Regions from separate parts of the Homo sapiens genome. Here all the other regions are linked to region 1. The links are contacts of gene promoters, found by promoter capture Hi-C in human tissues and cell types (Jung and others, 2019). All regions are on one chromosome and are shown on one strand. The core of a region is centred on a gene start or on the middle of the fragment in contact, and the rest is flanking DNA. Distances in the headings are between cores, read along the strand shown. Region 1 holds the start of RBP7 (retinol binding protein 7). Region 2 overlaps UBE4B (ubiquitination factor E4B). Region 3 overlaps UBE4B (ubiquitination factor E4B).

Region 1 (4,016 bases), core at 1,076-3,575:
CGCCTGTCCAATTTTTTGTATTTTTAGTAGAGATGGGGTTTCACCATGTTGACCAGGCTGGTCTCAAACTCCTGACCTCAGGTGATCCACCCACCTCGGTCTCCCAAAGTGCTGGGATTACAGGTGTGAGCTACCATGCACGGACTGCTAGCTTTTATTATATTTGAGTCTGGAACTCATGGGAGAGGTCATAAATTGACATATAAATCTTGAGCTGGACACAGTGGCTTACACCTGTAATCCCAGCACTTTGGGAGGCCAAGGTTGGAGGGTTGCTTGAGCCTAGGAGTTTGAGACCAACCGCCGGCAACACAGGGATACTCCATCTCTATAAAAAATTAAAAAAATTAGTCAGGCATGGTGGCACATGCCTGTAGTTGTAGCTACTTAGAAGGCTGAGGCAGGAAGATCACTTGAACTCAGGAGGTTGAGGCTACAGTGAACCATGATCATACCACTGCACTCCAGCCTAGGCAACAGAGCAAGACTCTATCTCAAAAAATAGTCAGTCTGGGTGTGGTGGCTCATGCCTGTAATTCCAGCACTTTGGGAAGCTTAGGTGGGTGGATCTTTTAAGGTTGGGAGTTCGAGACCTACCTGGCCAACATGGTGAAACTCCACCTCTTCTAAAATATATAAAAATTAGCCAGGCATGGTGGCAGGTACCTGTAATCCCAGCTACTCAGGAGGCTGAGGCAGGAGAGTTGCTTGAACCCAAGAGGCGGAGGTTGCAGTGAGCCAAGATTGCACCATTGCACTCCAGCCTAGGCGACAGAGTGAGAGTCTGTCTCAAAAAATAAAATAGAATAAAATAAAATAAAAAGAATAAATGAAAAAATAAATACCGCGGGTGCGGTGGCTCACACCTATAATCCCAGCACTTTGGGAGGCTGAGGCAGGCGAATCACGAGGTCAGGAGCTCAAGACCAGCCTAGCCAACATGATGAAACCCCCATCTCCACTAAAAATACAAAAAATTAGTTGGGCATGGTGATGGGCACCTGTGATCCCAGCTACTCGGGAGGCTGAGGCAGGAGAATCACTTGAACCTGGGAGGCGGAGGTTGCAGTGAGCCGAGATGGAACCACTGCCCTCCAGCCCGGGGCGATAGAGTGAGACTCCCTCTCTGCCGGGCGCAGTGGCTCAGGCCTGTAATCCCAGCACTTTGGGAGGCCAAGGCGGGCGGATCACAAGGTCATGAGATCGAGACCATCCTGGCTAACACGGTGAAACCCCGTCTCTAATAAAAATATAAAAAGTTAGCCGGGCGTGTTGGCGGGCGCCTGTAGTCCCAGCTACTCGGGAGGCTGAGGCAGGAGAATGGCGTGAACCCCGGAGGCGGAGCTTGCAGTGAGCCGAGATCTCTCCACTGCACTCCAGCCTGGGCACAGAGCGAGACTCCGTCTCAAAAAAAAAAAAAAAAAGAAAAAAGAAAGAGTGAGACTCTGTCTCAAAAGAAAAAAAATAAAAATAAAATCAATAAGTCAGTCTTGGAGCCAGCATATCTAGGCGGTGTTTGTGGCTAATGTTGTAGGTTAGCCCATATTCCCACCCCTTCTCCTTTGCTTTTCTCTGCTCTGAGGCTAAATGCTGCAGACTAGAATCCCCAGGCCCCCTTGCAGTTAGAAGTGGCATTGATACAGTTTTGGCTAATGAAATGTACACAGAAACCTGCTGGGTAATTTCTTTTCTTTTTTCCAACTATCCAGACTTATAGGAGATGGGGAGGTTTGTGCTGCAGGGATACTGACCTTTGGTGCTTTCCCTCTTCCCTACCTTGAATGTGGATGTCCTGGCTGGGAACCCAGCTGCCAGCTCATGACCAGGAGGTAACAAGCAGGAATAAAAGGCCACCAGAGTCACAGAGACGAAGCTGCGGCGTTACCGAGGTGCGAATCACTGTGATTCCTAGGTGCGAATCATCACCAGCAATCACTTCTCTCAGGACTCCTTGTTAAGAAAAATAAACTCCTATTTATTGAGACCATGAGAGTTACGTTGAGAGGTATATTGTTATTGAAGCTGACAATATTCAATGCCATGAGTTTGAAGATCATCCCTGGGTCATTAACATATAAGCAGGGAAGAAAATGTGGCCCGAAACAGTCTGGGACATGAGAAAGCAGTAGGAGAGGAAGCCCCAAGGAAAGGGGGAAGCTGCCGCGCGGTGGGCAGAGCCAGGAGCACCGGGCTGAGGCGGCCGGGAGCGCAGCGGCTTCTAGGGGTGAGTGGGACCCACGCGGCCCCACCTGCTCCTCCCGCGCGCGGCCCCACCCCCCTGCCCCGCCCCGCCTGGTTTATAGGTCCCGGCCCGAGCCTCCGGCCGCCCGCCGGGTTTGTCCCGCGATCCCCGACCATGCCCGCCGACCTCAGCGGTACTTGGACCCTGCTCAGCAGCGACAACTTCGAGGGCTACATGCTGGCCCTAGGTAAGGCGGAGGGGAGGCGGCGGCGGCGCGAGGCTCGCCGTGGGTCTCGGGATCAGGCGAAGGCGGCCGGGCCGGGCCTGTAGGTACGTCCTCTGTCCGTGCCTCCGCCCTGCTGCGCCCACCGTCGCCCAGTCGCCCCCGAGTCCGCTGGTCCTTGGCGCCTCCGTCCATCGGGCGCGGGACCCCAGTCCTTCAGTCCCCCAGTCCGTCCTTTCCCGCGCCCACCCGCCCCCCTGTCCCCACGGCCGTCTCTCCACGCCCTCTGTTCCCCCGGCCGTCGGTCCCCCACCCGTCCGTCCCTGAGTGCCCGCGTCCAGCCCCACGTCCGTCTCTACCCGCACGCGGCACACCTGCGGAGACTGCAGACTCGGGGTCCGGCCGGGGAGGGGGGTCCGGCCGGGGAGGGGGCGCCCGGGACCGAAGCCTCTGCCCGGCCACCCTCCCCGCAGCCGCCTTCCGTGCAGGCCCCGGGGCCCCGGGCGCGCTCCCGCAGCGAAGTCCCAGCAGCCTCGGCGCACCCGGAGCGGGTCGGGGATGCAGAATCCTGGAGCCAGCGGACGACCCTTCAGGTCCGGGCACCCGCGGGAGTGCAGAGCCTGGTTCGGCCCGGGGCGTGCCCCGACCGCCGCCTCCCACGAGGGCTGGGTGCCCGCGGCGTTCTTGCTCCCGGGGGCCCCGCGCTGTGCTTCCCGCCCTCATCGCGGTGCCAACGGTGCGCGGACTCTCAACTCACTGCAACCTCCGCCTCCTCGGTTCAAGCGATTCTCCTGCCACAGCCTTCCAAGTAGCTGGGATTACACGCGTGCGCCAGCCACCACGTCCGGCTAATTTTGTACTTTTAGTAGAGAAGGGGTTTCACTATATTGGTCAGGCTGGTGTCCAACTCCTGACCTCAGGTGATCCACCCGCCTTGGCCTCCCAAAGTGCTGGGATTACAGGTGTGAGCCACGCGCCCTGCCACGAGTGTAGTTTTTCTTGTAGCTTTAGGAATCTGGGAAGTTGCCGTGCCGGCCAATCCCTGAACCCTTGACCCGTGGGCAATTTTTGTTTTCTTTTTTTCTTTCTTTCTTTCTTTCTTTTTTTTTTTTTTTTTTGAGACGGAGTCTCGCTCTGTTGCCCAGGCTGGAGTGCAGTAGTACGATCTCGGCTCACTGCAAGCTCCGCCTACCGGGTTCACGCCATTTTCCTGCCTCAGCCTCTCCGAGTAGCTGGGACTATAGGCGCCCGCCACCACGCCCAGCTAATTTTTGTATTTTTTAGTAGAAACGGGGTTTCACCATGTTGGCCAGGCTGGTCTCGAACATCTGCCCTCGTGATCTGCCCACCTTGGCCTCCCAAAGTGCTGGGATTACAGGCGTGAGGCACCGCACCGGCCAATTTTTGTTTTCTTAACCTTAGGGCCCATCTTAGTTGATAAAGGGGCATTTATTTTGCTCTTTCATATCCCAAGAGATAAGAGTGTTCCTCTGGGTATGGGAAAAGCACCTCTCACTTGAGAGTCTTATGATCTTCTTCAGAGGAAGAGCAGAGAATTCTTTTATGGCCTGCTTCAGGGAAGAGGGGCAAAAGAAGGTCTGAGGGGGACCT
Region 2 (4,016 bases), core at 1,095-3,594, 180 kb after region 1:
GACCCTCTGATGGACACCCTCATGACAGACCCCGTGCGGCTGCCCTCTGGCACCATCATGGACCGCTCCATCATCCTGCGGCACCTGCTCAACTCCCCCACGGACCCCTTCAACCGGCAGACGCTGACAGAGAGCATGCTGGAACCAGGTAGAGGAGGGTGCAGTTTGAGGTGCAGCGCTGGCGTCAGTACCAAGAGATAAAGCCCAAGTCACATATTGGAGATGAAGCAGAAGGGAAATTTATCAAATGCAGAAACTACCTACTTTATGACACTCTGTAGCAAAGACCCAAAACACTCTTGGCCCTTTTTCCCTGCAGACATCCAGTCCCTCCCTCTCATGTCCCAGTCCTTCTGGAGTCTTCGGCTCAATGAGGGAAAGAATGGCCTTTTCTTCCCATTTATACAGAGCGACAAGCATCCTCTCTCAGGAAGAGCCCTCCCATCTGGGGCATTAATCCTCCTTTTTTTCTTTTCTCAGTGCCAGAACTGAAAGAGCAGATTCAGGCGTGGATGAGAGAGAAACAGAACAGCGATCACTAAACCGTTCCGCCGCCCACCCTCTGCTAGACACAGCCAAGGCCAACGAGGCAAGCAGAAGCAGCGGCCGCAGCGAAGCTGCCGTTCATGTGTTGGAGGCCAAATGTGGCAAACCAACCCCAGGCCCACCCAGAGCGAGCAAACGCTGAGACCTGAAAGGACATGGATGAGAAGAGGAGCCCGCTTCCTGTACATATATTTAAGTGACAAACACGGTCAAAAGCTTAAGGGACAGGTTTTATGGTTGCTTGTGTAATAAAGCATGTCCTTCGTATGTCACAGTTTGGGGCAACGGAAGTCTTTTAGTGATGGCTAATGGGTCTGGGCAGCATCCCTTCATGAATTTTTTTTTAATCCAATATCCGTTGATTTGATTGTGATTAGAGAACCTTGGACATTTTGCTGCTAAAGAATCTTTTTTCCCCTCTCCCCCTTCCTGACCCTACTTGCACTGCTGTGGATTTTTTTAAGAGAAGCAAAAACAAAAGTAAACTCCTTTCCCTGGCCCTCCAAACATATATTCTGTGAGATAACTGTGCCTGCTACCAAGTGTTAATCCTGGGATCGTATTTTTATATCATATTCACATATTTGTTTTTTTAATTGGTGTTAGATGACATGATTAATAAAAAAGGCAAGATATTTTCAGAATTTGAATTTCAGTTTTTTTTTTCTTTTGAAATGTCCCTTTAAGATTTTTTTATTCTAAACAAAATAAAGAAAATCCTGCTGCTCTGGTCCTTGTGATAAGCCTCTCTTCGGCATCTGAGGAGCAGCTGCAGCAAAATCTAGGGGTGTAAGTGTATCAGGACTTATGTGACTTATATTTTGGGGAGATGAGGGTTGGGTTTTTTTTTTAATGCTACGTGACAGTTTGAAACCTTCACAGTTATCCTCTGGGGGTAAATCAATTCTTCAACCCTTGGGTGTGTGAGTTTGAGGCAGGGTCATTTGTGTGATGTGTTTGGCCTTACCAAAGCAAAAGAGGGTGCAAGAATGTGGGAGTATGTCTGCCGGTTTCAACACACACAGACAAACACAGCCACACGCGCACACAAGTATAAGACTTTTTGTATTACTGCTCCCTACTTAACATACTTGAATTCTCAAATTTCCTTTGGGGTAAAAAAAAAAAAAGGATTTGAAACCATAAAGTGTTCTGAAGAAATTAAGTCTATAAAAAGCATACTTTCTTTTTTCTTTTCCTTTTTTCCCTCCACAGACAATGTCCTCTGTTCAATTCCTAACGCAAACTACAATAAATGGTGACACACGTTCAGAAGAAATCTTCTTTGAGTCTCTTCTCTTTTGTGGAAAAAAAAAAAGGGCAGGGCGGGTGGGTAAACAAGAGCCAAGTGAGTTTGCATGTGGTGAATGATCTTTCCTGGATCCAATTAGGAGCTGCTATTTTTAAAAGAAAACTTTCTTATTCATGTCAGTCTCGACATTTGGTTCTCATTTCACTGTTTGCTGATTTGAGGGGGTAAGCTTTGTCATATTCAGTCTTCTGCCTTTCTTGAGTTTCTTCTGCTTTATCTCAAGTATCTTCCCTGACCTTCAAGATTCTTCCTCAGGCCGGGCCCGGTGGCTCACGCCTGTAATCCCAGCACTTTGGGAGGCTGAGGCGGATGGATCACCTGACGTCAGGAATTCGAGACCAGCCTGGCCAGCATGGTGAAACCCCATCTCTACTAAAAATACAAAAAATTAGCCGGGCGTAGTGGCAGCGCCTGTAGTCCCAGCTACTCGGGAGGCTGAGACAGGAGAATTGCTTGAACCTGGGAGGTGGAGGTTGCAGTGAGCCGAGATGACGTCATCACACTCCAGCCTGGGTGACAGCGAGACTCCGTCTCAAAAAAGAAAAAATATATATTTATATATATTTACATATATATTTATTTATATATATTTATATATATATATATAACATGGCCAGGTGCGGTGGCTCACGCCTGTAATCCCAGCACTTTGGGAGGCCAAGGCAGGTGTATCGTCTGAGGTCAGGAGTTCTAGACCAGCCTGGCCAACATGGTGAAACCCCATCTCAACTGAAAATACAAAAATTAGCTGGGCGTGGTGGTGGGTGCCTATAATCCCAGCTACTCGGGGGGCCGAGGCAGGAGAATTGCTTGAACCCAGGAGGTGGAGGTTGCAGTGAGCTGAGATCGCGCCATCGCACTCCAGCCTAGGGGACAAGAGTGAGACTTCGTCTCAAAAAATAGATAGATAGATAGACACAATAAATAAGGAAAAAGTTCATGATAGCAAAAATTTTAGGCAATATAAGCAAAAAGAAAAAAAATCCATATTCTCACCATGCAGAAGATTCTGTTTAATTGGGTTTACTTTTTACTAAACTTACATATCTAAGCTTAGTGCCTGTAGAATTAGGATACTGACTGGCATCTTGCCTAATTTTGTTTGTGTGGTTATCTGACCAGTGTGTACTGCTTGTCTCCTCTCCATCCCAGATTCCAAACTCTTATTTTAATCCTCCAGTTGTCCCCGTGAATGTAATAAAATGCTGCTTTATACCGCCATATGCACTTGTCGTTTTGAATAATTCAGAGGTTTCAAGGACCTGCCGGATAGGACAGAGACACAGTCAGTCTCCTGCCTGTACTATCTATAGGGGGAAGATGATTTGGGTTTCCATTTTTAGAGTCTCAAGAGTTGCTGTTTTGTGTTTGTCTGCAGTCTCTTAATTGTGGATATTGAAATAAATCCCAAAATATATTAAAAGTAGGTCTTGGCTAAAAGGAAGATTGTCAAATAAGAGAATCAGATTGGCAGAAGAGAAATGATCCTTGAGAGAAAGATGATTAAAATCTGCCTTGTGTTGTGACTCAGTGTTGTGTAGATTTTAAAAAGATATTGATTGAATATCTTTTGAAAAAAAAGCTGAGCACACCGTTCACTTTTTGTAACCTCTGGGTTTGGTACATCGAGTAGTGAATTTCACAGCAATTTGATTGGAGTGCTAAAGTGACATGAATAGGCCTCATTTGAGTAGGTACTTTTTTTTGTTTTTTGGTTTTTTTCAGACGGAGTCTCGCTCCGTCACCCAGGCTGGAGTGCAGTGGCGCAATTTTGGCTCATTGCAACCTCCACCTTCCAGGTTCAAGTGATTCTCCTGCCTTAGCCTCCCGAGTAGCTGGGACTAGAGCACATGCCACCATGTCCAGCTAATTTTTTTTTTTTTTTTTTTTTTTTTTTAGTAGAGATGGGGTTTCACCATGTTGGCCAGGCTGGTCTTGAACTCCAGACCTCAAGTGATCCACCTGCCTCAGCCTCCCGAAGTGCTGGGATTACAGGCATGAGCCACCACACCAGGCCTCAAGGTACGTTTTTGATTGAAGGAGACACAGTAGCCTATGAGCTTGATGCTGGTGTCAGATAGTGTTGGTGAAGAAAGTCATTCTGAATTGGTGATGATCATTTGCATTTCATGAGCATATTCTATGTGCAAGCCACTCT
Region 3 (4,016 bases), core at 989-3,488, 140 kb after region 1:
GCTGAATTTCCTTTGGGTACTGCAGCAGCTAAGTACAAAAATCAAGTTAGAAACAGTTGATCCCACGTATATTTTTCACCCAAGATGTCGGATTACTCTTCCCAATGATGAGACGCGTGTGAATGCAACGATGGAAGATGTGAATGACTGGCTGACTGAACTCTGTGAGTACTGTGTTCGTGACTCGGTCATTAAAACACTGCCCTCTTGTCTGTGTGCTAGTAGTTCCTCACAGATTGTTACCACCTCACCATAAAATGAACTTAAGAGATAGAGAAACATAATAAAAATTAATACAGTAGGCCTGGCGTGGTGACTCATACCTATAATCCCAGCACTTTGGGAGGCCGAGGCAGGTGGATCACGAGGTCAGGAGTTCAAGACCAGCCTGACCACCGTGGTGAAACCCCGTCTCTACTAAAAATACAAAAATTAGCTGGGCATGGTGGCACACGCCTGTAATCCCAGCACTTTGGGAGGCTGAGGTGGGCAGATCAAAAGGTCCGGAGTTCATGACCAGCCTGATCACCATGGTGAAACCCCATCTCTACTAAAAATACAAAAATTAGCGGGTGTGGTGGCACGCACCTGTAATCCCAGCTACTCAGGAGGCTGAGGCAGGAGAATTGTGTGAACCCAGGAGGCTGAGCTTGCAGTGAGCCATGATCACGGCACTGCACTCCAGCCTGGGCAACAGAGTGAGACTCTGTCTCAAAAAAAAAAAAAAAACAGATACAAATTGAAAAAAAAAATCAAGTTATCATAATATATCTATAAAAAAGCCAAAACCAAAGTGATAAAATAGAATGTAAGTTTTTGAAGAAGTAGGTGATATTTAATCAATTTATTTAACCTATCTGAAGTGAATTCTGGTGATTCATAGCAAAAAATATAATACTGTTGTTCTCAATAATTCTACTTTTCAGGTTATATTCCCAAAGTTGGAGGAAAAAGGAATAATTTTGTTTACATAAATCCTCCCAGTAGTAACATTATTTATAATAGAAAAAAATTAGAAAAAAGAAATATGCAGGGAAACGGCTCTGGAATCAGTAGTTTATTAACATAATTTAATACCATTTCGAGATTTAAATATTTCTGTATTGTGTTGAAAAATGGAGATTTTATACAATACATCAGTAAGGAACATCACCAAAGATTGTTGATGGGCTGGGAATGGTGGCTCACATCCATAATCCCAGCACTTTTGGAAGCTGAGGTGGGAGGAGAGCTTGAGCCCAGGAGTTCAAGACCAGCCTGGGCAAAATAAGGAAACCCCATGTCTACAAAGAAAAAAATTAGCCCAGCATGGTGGCACATGCCTGTGTTCCCAGCCACCCAGGAGACTGAGGCAGGAGGATTGCCTGAGCCCAGGAAATTGAGGCTGCAGTGATCTGTGATCTTACCACTGCACTGCACTGCAGCCTAGGTGACACTAGGTGACAGAGTAAGACCCTCTTAAAAAAAAAAAAAAAAAAAGATTGTGATGGACATCTGTATGCACATTTAACGAGGTAGGACAGAATACGGTGGTCCTTGAATGGAGCTAACAGGAATTCTCTTCTTCTTGTAGTATTGTTTAAGTTTATAATTGCAAAAGTATCCTTAAACTTCTGGCGGGGCATGGTGGCTCACGCCTGTAATCCCAGCACTTTGGGAGGCCAAGGAGGGTAGATTGCCTGAGGTCAGGAGTTCGAGACCAGTCTGAGCAACATGGTGAAACCTCGTCTCTCCTAAAAATGCAAAAGTAGCCAGGTGTGGTAGCACACGCCTGTAATCCCAGCTTACTAGGGAGGCTGAGGCAGGAGAATCACTTGAACCTGGGAGGCGGAATTTGCAGTAAGCCAAGATCGTGCCATTGCACTTCTGCCTGGGTGACGAGAGCAAAAGTCCATCTCAAATAAATAAATAAATAAATAAACAAATAAAAAGTATCTTTAAACTTCATAAAAATTCAAATGTAATTTTCTCTTCTGAATTCAGCTTTTTCTCTGATTGAGACATGTAATAGATTTTATTTAGGGAATGATGTTATTTTTCCTAGATGGCGATCAGCCTCCATTTTCTGAGCCGAAATTCCCTACGGAGTGCTTCTTTCTCACCCTGCATGCTCACCACCTCTCTATTCTGCCTAGTTGCCGTCGCTATATCCGCAGACTCCGGGCTATCCGGGAGCTCAATAGGTATGTGCCATGATACCGTGTCCTGGGATTGCCTGAGTTACCACTTTTTCTCAGGGGCAGGCAATTCCATTGTGAACAGTAGTTTTGAATGTTGGGGGAGGTATGTACGTTATATAGTGTTCTGTCTGCCTCCACCGCCACATCCATGTTGCTCAGTTGTCCAGAGTTCTTTACCTGGTGAAGTGATCCAAACCTTGATTTCTGAGAGTTCTGAACCCTGGATATTTCACTCTGTTTATGGTTACTACAGACTTCCATTAACTTTTCCCACTGGGCATACATTACCAGGAGGCACTTCAAACTTTAAAAGTTTAAAGGATCCCCTGGGTTTCAGACATACCCCTTCTTCCCTGGACTGTGAAAAAGTAACCATGGTTTCCCTTGATAACCAGGATCATTTACTCCTGCCTACATGTAATTCTCTTTTTGGCTTGTTCTGTGGCATGAGGGGTCCAAAATGGCCAGATAGCAGCCTCAAATTTCCAATTCATTAGCACCATGGTTGTGTTTCTTACTCTAAGCATTTTTTCCTGTGTACTAACACCAACAAACAGAAGTCACAGGAACACAGAAGCAAATATTTTTGAGCAGGTTATCTGGAATAATAATGATGCCACTTCTGCTTTTTGGTCTAGAACCTGCGTAGTCTGTCTATGAGAGAAACTGAATCATATTTATATCTCTGTATCTACCTTGCTTAAATCACTTACTAATTCTTTTTTTTTTTTTTTTTTTTTTTTTTTTTTTGAGACGGAGTCTCGCTCTGTTGCCCAGGCTGGAGTGCAGTGGTACGATCTCAGCTCGGTGCAACCTCTGCCTCCCAGGTTCAAGCGATTCTCCTGCTTCAGCCTCCCGAGTAGCTGGGATTACAGATGTGCACCACCACGCCTGGCCAATTTTTTTTTTTTTTTTGATGGAGTCTCACTCTGTAGTCCAGGCTGGAGTCCAATGGCATGATCTCGGCTCACTGTAATCTCTGCCGCCTGGGTTCAAGCAATTCTCCTGTCTCAGTCTCCTGAGTAGCTGGGACTACAGGCGCCCACCACCACACCCAGCTAATTTTTTGTATTTTTAGTAGAGACGGGGTTTCACCGTGTTAGCCAGGATAGTCTTGATCTCCTGACCTCGTGATCCGCCCGCCTCAGCCTCCCAAAGTGCTGGAATTACAGGCGTGAGCCCATGCACCTGGCCCAATTTTTTGTATTTTTTGTAGAGACGGGGTTTCTCCATGTTGGTCAGGCTGGTCTCAAATTCCTGACCTCAGGCGATCCGACTGCCTCCGCCTCCCAAAGTGCTGAGATTACAGGTGTGAGCCACCGTGCCTGGCCTAAAATCACTTACTAATTCTAATAGTTAACTCTGCAAATTCTTTATGATTTACTTTCTACACATAATCATGTCTATAAATGATGACAATTTTATTTCTTTTACTTTTTTTTTCATGCCTTAGTGCCCAGGCTGTAATTTTTAGTACAATGTTGAATAGAAATAACCTTGAAATTTCCATCTTGTTTCAGTTGGTGGAGGAAAGCTTTCTATATATCCTCAGTTACCAGATTAAGAAAATTTCCTTTTATTTCAATAGTTAGTTCCCTTAGCACTGGTTGAATTTTATTAAATACTTTTGCCATATCTGTTGAGGAGACTAGACTTTTTTCTTCTCTATTCTGTTAATGTGGTTGAATTATATCAGTTGGTTTTCTGTTATTAAACCAGTCTTTCTTTCCTGGAGTAAACTTAACTTTTATATTAATGTTTTTATATCTAATTGGATATACAATTTGCTAATATTCTGTTTAGGATTTTTGCATCTGTTCAAAAGAAAGCCTGACC

What was found. The method cuts DNA at HindIII sites, captures the fragments that hold promoters and counts their contacts. A contact is called where the count stands out against the background at its distance.
Region 2: a fragment that was not itself captured here is called in contact with the fragment with the promoter of RBP7 in region 1 in 2 of the 25 tissues and cell types used here (aorta and dorsolateral prefrontal cortex).
Region 3: a fragment that was not itself captured here is called in contact with the fragment with the promoter of RBP7 in region 1 in 2 of the 25 tissues and cell types used here (aorta and hippocampus).

The regions. Positions count from the first base shown.
Region 1 is chr1:9,994,903-9,998,918 of GRCh38, forward strand. RBP7 (retinol binding protein 7) reads left to right here and starts at 2,326. Exons shown (of 4, transcript NM_052960.3): 1 at 2,326-2,429. The coding sequence starts at 2,357. LOC124903840 (basic salivary proline-rich protein 2-like) reads right to left here and starts at 3,187. Exons shown (of 2, transcript XM_047436754.1): 1 at 2,780-3,187; 2 at 1,817-1,950. The coding sequence starts at 3,128. The coding sequence ends at 1,817. It also overlaps a transcript of NMNAT1 not described here. The HindIII fragment of the contact is 9,171 bases long and covers 1-4,016 here.
Region 2 is chr1:10,179,415-10,183,430 of GRCh38, forward strand. UBE4B (ubiquitination factor E4B) reads left to right here. Exons shown (of 28, transcript NM_001105562.3): 27 at 2-148; 28 at 481-1,825. The coding sequence ends at 542. Among named protein-coding and RNA genes, the nearest start is that of KIF1B, 29 kb to the right of the region's middle. The HindIII fragment of the contact is 5,206 bases long and covers 1-4,016 here.
Region 3 is chr1:10,135,023-10,139,038 of GRCh38, forward strand. It overlaps UBE4B (ubiquitination factor E4B), which reads left to right. Exons shown (of 28, transcript NM_001105562.3): 16 at 1-164; 17 at 2,045-2,183. Among named protein-coding and RNA genes, the nearest start is that of KIF1B, 74 kb to the right of the region's middle. The HindIII fragment of the contact is 4,742 bases long and covers 1-4,016 here.